Regions from separate parts of the Homo sapiens genome. Here region 2 is linked to region 1. The links are contacts of gene promoters, found by promoter capture Hi-C in blood cells and fetal thymus (Javierre and others, 2016). All regions are on one chromosome and are shown on one strand. The core of a region is centred on a gene start or on the middle of the fragment in contact, and the rest is flanking DNA. Distances in the headings are between cores, read along the strand shown. Region 1 holds the start of TSPAN16 (tetraspanin 16). Region 2 has its middle 9.0 kb from the start of ZNF627.

Region 1 (3,391 bases), core at 496-2,995:
TGGGAGGATCACTTTAGCTCATGAGGTTGAGACTGCAGTGAGCTATGACTGTGCCACTGTACTCCAGCCTGGATGACAGATCAAGACCTTGTCTCAAAAAATAAAATAGGCCAGCCACAGTGGCTCACACCTGTAATCCCAGCACTTTGGGAGGCCGAAGCAGGTGGATCACCTGAGGTCAGGAGTTCGAGACCAGCCTGGCCAACATGGCGAAACCCTGTCTCTACTAAAAATACAAAAATTGGCCGGGCGTGGTGGTGGGCACCTGTAATCCCAGCTACTCAGGAGGCTGAGGCAGAAGAATCGCTTAAACCTGGGAGGTGGAGGTTGCAGTGAGCTGAGATCATGCCACTGCACTCCAGCCTGGGTGACAGAGCAAGACTCCGTCTCAAAATAAAATAAAATAAAATAAAATAAAATAATGTCATAGGACAGGGATTAGCAATTTTTTTTTTCTGAAAAACCCAGATGTTGTGGCCTCTGCAGGACTTAAGGTGTCTGTTGAAACTACGCAGTTCTATTGGTGTAGCCCAAAAGCAGCTGTTCACAATCTCCAAATAAGTGAGCACGGCCATGTTCCAATAACACTTTATTTTGTATTATTATTTTTTAAATAGAGATGGGGATCTCACTATAGCTGGTCTCGAGCTCCTGGCTCAATGGATCTGCCCACCTCGGCCTCCCAAAGTGCTGGGATTACAGGCATGAGTCACCACAGCCGGCCTTAATTCTCTTTAAAATGTTACAAGTGAAGAGGAGGAGTGATATTTCATTTCCTTCTCTTTCCTGGCAGCTTTTCCTTAGACTATGCTACAATGAAGACAATTACTTCTTTTTATGTTTTTATTCTTTTATTTTTTTATTGAGACAGAGTCTCGCTATGTTGCCCAGGCTGGAGTGCAGTGACACAATCTCGGCTCACTGCCAACCTCTGCCGCCCAGGTTCAAGCAATTCACATGCCTCAGCCTCCTGAGTAGCTGGGATTATAGGCACGTGCCACCACGCCCATCTAATTTTTTTGTATTTTTAGTAGAGATGGGGTTTCCCCATATTGACCAAGGCTGGTCTTGAACTCCTGACCTCGTGATCCACCCGCCTTGGCCTCCCAAAGCGTTGGGATTACAGGCATGAGCCAGCGCCCCCGGCCTGACAATTCCTTAGCAATGTACATTTCGGGTTACTTTTACGGTAAGGAAAAAAATGTGACAAATTTAAAAGATCAAGAAAATAACCCTTTCTCCTGGCCTTCCCAAACAACTTGGTCGGCTACAGGATTTGACTTAGAGCCAAGCTCTTCCATCACCCACCTGGGCTCCCCCAGATCACACTCATCTGTGCTGGATTTCACCAGCTCTCGGTTGATGGAGGTCCCCACGCTCCCTGCTCCTCCTCCTCCGTCTGCCCTACATCCCTCCTGCTTCTCCAGGGAACCACAGATCTCGATGCCAATTTGGATCAACTTATTTCTGTCTTTCAGGGAGCTGACTGTGGAGGAAGGGCTGCAACAAACCAGGGGCCTGGATTGTGACATACTTACAGCCACGAAGCCATTGAGTAAAGATAACAGTTTCTTCAAGGAAGAATACGGAGTGTGGATTTCAGCCATGCTGAACAGACTGGGGCACCCTGAACATTTAAGTTAACATCTTCCTGAACCTCTGGGCTACTGTTTCCCAAGATGATAGGGATCTGAGGAAGGGGCGCCAATGCTGACTTGCTCTGCCCCTCTGTGTCCTGGCTGCCTGATGGTTGTCCAAGGCGGCCCAGCAGCTGCCCCCTGCCCTGGTCATAAGCCTTTTATCACATCACAATTGGGTTCTGGAGCAAGGCTCATGGTCCAGGGAAATCAGGTGCCCCAAACTGCCCCCTGTTGGCTCCTCATCCTTCAAACAGGTCACAGCAGGGAAAGAGAACAGGCATGGTATGCTACCCTGGTACCCTCCAGATGCCACCAGGACCCTGTGGGCATAGTGCCCAGAGCTAACCACTTGCACAGTTGACATCTCCTAGTAGACTGGGGGATCCAAGCGGGGGAGGGGGGAACTTGGGCTGTCCTATTAACAGCTGTGACCCCTGCCAGGCGCAGTGGCTCACACCTGTAGTCAAAGCATGTTGGGAGGCGGAGACGGGCGAATCACCTGAGGTCAGGAGTTTGAGACCTACTAACAATACAAACAATACAAAAATTACCTGGGTGTGGTGGCACACGCCTATAATCCCAGCTACTTGGGAGGCTGGGGCAGGAGAATCACTTGAACCCAGGAGGTGGAGGTTGCAGTGATCTGAGGTCGTGCCATTCCACTCCAGCCTGGTTGACGGAGTGAGACTCTGTCTCAAACAAAACAAAACAAAAACAAAAACAGCTGTGTCCCCAAAGCCTGGCACTGCAGTACTTAAGAAACCCGCGGAGAATGAATGAATGGATCCAGAGGCTCTGTGATGCAGAAATCTAGCTACAAGCCACCGGGCCTCCCAAGCCCAAGCCCATACTTGGCCCATCCTTCATACAGGGCTCAGAGAGGCCAAGGGAACTGCCTGAGGCCACACAGGAAGCAAGACCAGGCTTTGAAGCCCCAAGAGTAACATGAGGGCAGGAACCTGTAAGGCAGAGAGTCCTGGAACTGTGAGCCATTGGTCACTGGGTTTTTTTCTTTTGAGACAGGATCTTGCTCCATTGCCCAGGCTGGAGTGCAGTGGTGTGATCATGGCTTACTGCAGCCACGACCTCCCTGGCTCAAGTGATCCTCCCACCTTAGCCTCCCAAGTAGCAGGTCATTGGGCTTTTCTCCATGGTGATAGATGTAGTTAGCATTTCAGGACCAAAAACCTTCTGTATGTCAGCACTGAAGACCTCCAGGCCTAGATCCTGCAGTCTGTAGCCCACTTTGCCCCCATACCTCCCCACCCTAACCATAGCAGCTTCACATTGCCCCACCCCGATCCCCTCTCTGTCCAGCCCTGGGCTGGGGTGTGTCTGGGTCCAGGTCCTGCATGGATTGGGGGAAGGCGGATGGTTCAAATGGGAGAAAATACCTTACACTTTAATTAATTTAATGAATGTCTGTCAAATCGCCTGCTTCTTGGAACATGTAGAACTAAGCAAGATGTTCACAGAGGAGTGCTGTCTCCTCCTGGACCACGGGTGCTGTTCACAGCCAGGAGTGTGTCCTTCCACACCTTTATTTAAGAGGTCATTTGAAGCCAGGCGCGGTGGCTCACGCCAGTAATCCCAGCACTTTGGGAGGCCGAGGTGGGTAGATCACGAGGTCAGGAGATCGAGACCATCCTGGCTAATGCAGTGAAACCCTGTCTCTACTAAAAATACAAAAAATTAGCCGGTTGTGGTGGCGGGTGCCTGCAGTCCCAGCTACTCGGGAGGCTGAGGCAGGA
Region 2 (3,391 bases), core at 269-2,768, 290 kb before region 1:
AATCCCATCTCTACTAAAAATACAAAAGAAACAAAACAAAACAACAACAACAACAACAAAACATATGTATTCCTTCCTGCGGATCATGAATACTGAAATAATTGGGGGTACCGGCTGGGCGTGGTGGCTCACGTCTGTAATCCCAGCACTTTGGGAGGCCGAAGCAGGCAGATGACCTGAAGTCAAGAGTTTGAGACCAGCCTGGCAAACATGGGGAAACCCCGTCTCTACTAAAAATACAAAAAGTAGCTGGGCGTGGTGCCGGGGGCCTGTAATCCCAGCTACTTGGGAGACTGAGACAGGGGAATCGCTTGAACCCGGGAGGCAGAGGCTACAGTGAGCCGAAATTGCGTTACTGCACTTCAGCCTGGACTCCATCTCAAAAAAATAATAAATAATTGAGGATGGTGAACAAAACCTTGGGTGGAGAGAAATGGGTGCCTAGTAATAACGGGATTAGAGGAACGAGTGTCCATTGGTGTTGTTGACTGTGAGGTGGGTCGTTGTGGAGTTCACAGCTGAGGGAGATCTGTGTGGGGCTCCTTCCTGCCCTGGCTATGGCTTACTCCAGCCGGTCCCCGCATCCTCCCGTGCCCGCTGACAGCCTTGCTGCAGGAGGGGCACCAGAACTTCTCAGCCTGCTACTCCCAAGCAGTTCAGCGGTACCCAGGATAGAAGGACCAGGAGCTGGAGTGGATAAGTCAGGTAACCATGGAATCAGTGGGCACCGGCTGGGATGAAAAGGAGGACAGGGGTTAGGTGGGGCTTGGGTGGGGTTTTCCTCCTTGCCATCCAACTGGCTCAGCAATGGCTGAGGCAAGGAAGTCACCATTTGCTTTCACTTGATGGTGGAGACGATGGATGTTTTTACTCTGGGGGCTAGAGCTGGTGGATATCTGAGAGGATGTGGGGAGGGGTTGGGGGAGCATGATGGGGTCTAGAGAGTAACGGGAATGTTTGATCACGAGGATCAAACATTCAAACATTCAAATGATCAAACGTTCAAATCATTGAGGAAAGAGGTGGGAGTTAGGTAATATAAAGACCAACTCCTGGCCGGGCGCGGTGGCTCACGCCTGTAATCCCAGCACTTTGGGAGGCCGAGGCGGGCGGATCAAGAGGTCAGGAGATCGAGAGCAACCTGGCTAACACGGTGAAATCCCGTCTCTACTAAAAATACAAAAAATTAGCCGGGCGTGGTGGCGGGCACCTGTAGTCCCAGCTACTTGGGAGGCTGAGGCAGGAGAATGGCGTGAACCCGGGAGGCGGAGCTTGCAGTGAGCCGAGATAGCGCCACTGCACTCCAGCCTGGGTGACAGACTGAGACTCCATCTCAAAAAAAAAAAAAAAAAAGAAAGAAACCAACTCCTTGGCATGACAGACCCCACCTCACCTCTCCCGATTTGGGATTTTGTTTGTTTGTTTGTTTTGGTGGAATCTCGCTCTGTCGCCCAGGCTGGAGTGCAGTGGCACGATCTTGGCTCACTGCAACCTCCACCCCCTGGGTTCAAGCATTCTCCTGCCTCAGTCTCCCGAGTAGCTGGGCTTACAGGCGCCCGCCACCACACCTGGCTAATTTTTTATATTTTGGTATAGACGAGGTTTCACCATGTTAGGCAGGCTAGTCTCGAACTCCTGGCCTCAAGTGATCCACCCGCCTCGGCCTCCCGAAGTGCTGGGATTACAGGTGTGAGCCACTGAGCCCAGCCCCATTTGAGATTATTGACCCACCTGGAACCTAGCCAGACTGAACTGGTGGCAGCAAACTACAACAGTGAACAGCTACATTTACATCATGCCACCCTCCAAACCACCAGCCTGACCCTCCACAGCTCATCCTGCCCTCCCATTCTCCAGACTGAAAATCAGTCCCTTAGCCTGTGCGAGCCCCACCAAATCCATAATTCCACCTCCCGTGCACTGAGGCAGGCATGGGGGTAGCCAGTCACCAGGACACCTTCACACCCATGCAGCTGAACTGTGCTGACTGATAGCGCCAAGGAGCTCATGGCGAGTGAGGCAGAGCCCCATCCAAGCCAGGGTCCTCTTTCCAGGCTTTTACCCAGTGCCTACTCAGAACTGCCTATAGATCCCCTCCTCTGAGAATCTCACCAGAGCAGACACGGTTTGCAATTTCCTGGGAATCCGGCTGCTCATCATGTTATCCTACAAACATTCCAGTCCCAGCATACCTCACTCATCCCACCCCTGGAATTTTCTCTGGGGCAGTCTCTGGCTGGATCCACTGTAGAATCTGTCCACGCCCTGCACAGGCCTAGTGGCAAGTGGGGGGCTGGAAGGAGCATTAATTTCTTCTCCAAAAGGGAAACTGGGTCTGCGTTCGGTGCTGCAGTTCAGGCTGTGGCCATGCAGGGGCAGCAGTGGACAGATAAAAACGTCTGAAAAAGGCGCTCAGGCTGCGGGAACAGTAGACCATCCCCAGGGACTTCACTGCCCAAGGCATCTGCCTAATTTCTCTCTCCTCTCCTCTGCCTAATTTCTCTCTCCTCTCCTCTCCTCTCCTCTCCTCTCCTCTCCTCTCCTCTCCTCTCCTCTCCTCTCCTCCCCTCCCCTCCCCTCCCCTCCCCTCCCCTCCCCTCCCCTCTTTTCTCTCTCTCTCTCTCTCTCCTTTCTCTCTCTCTCTCTGTCTAATCTGTCTATCTTCTATCCATCCGTCTATCATCTATCTATATTGGAGACAAAGTCTCACCATATTGCCCAGGTTGGTCTCAAACTCCTAGGCTCAAGCAATCTTCCCACCTGAGCCTCCCTAAATGCTGGGATTACAGGCAAGAGTAATTTTCATTTTTTGTTTTTTTTTTGTTTTTTTTTGTTTTTGGTCTAAGTACAGAGGACCTTACTGCTTTATTGATAGGCCCTGTTCTTCAGGGGGTCTGGCATGGAAACTGTGTATGGGGAGATTTTCAGTGTGGTGGGGGGCTGAGTGCAGCAGGGACTCCCAAGCAGCTGAGGGCCTCTCTCTTCCTCTCATACTGTCACTGGGGCTCCTGGTCTGAGGGTCTTACTCCTTGGAGACAGTGTGGACCACCACCTTTTTGCTGAAGCCAAATACATTGTCATGCCAGGAAATGAACTTGACAAAGTGTCATCAAGGGCAATGCTAGCCCCAGCACAGAAGGTGGAAGGATGGGTGTCGCTGTTAAAAGTCAGAGGAGACGGCCAGGCACGGTGGCTCAGGCCTGTAATCCCAGCACTTTCGGAGGCTGAGGCGGGTGGATCACTTGAGTTCAGGATTTTGAGACCAGCCTGGCCAACATGGTGAAACCCCATCCCTACTAAAAATACAAAAAATTAGCTGGGTGTGGCGGTGTGCGCCTGTAATCCCAGCTACTCGGGAGACTGAGGCAGGAGAATTGATTGCTTGAACCCA

The links. The method cuts DNA at HindIII sites, captures the fragments that hold promoters and counts their contacts. A CHiCAGO score of 5 or more calls a contact.
Region 2: a fragment that was not itself captured here is called in contact with the fragment with the promoter of TSPAN16 in region 1 in 1 of 17 cell types (endothelial precursors); the score reaches 7.9 in endothelial precursors.

The regions. Positions count from the first base shown.
Region 1 is chr19:11,294,514-11,297,904 of GRCh38, reverse strand. It overlaps TSPAN16 (tetraspanin 16), which reads right to left and starts at 1,745. Exons shown (of 7, transcript NM_001282509.2): 1 at 1,539-1,745. The coding sequence starts at 1,607. The HindIII fragment of the contact is 19,527 bases long and covers 1-3,391 here.
Region 2 is chr19:11,586,793-11,590,183 of GRCh38, reverse strand. It overlaps the pseudogene GAPDHP76. Among named protein-coding and RNA genes, the nearest start is that of ZNF627, 9.0 kb to the left of the region's middle. The HindIII fragment of the contact is 6,110 bases long and covers 1-3,391 here.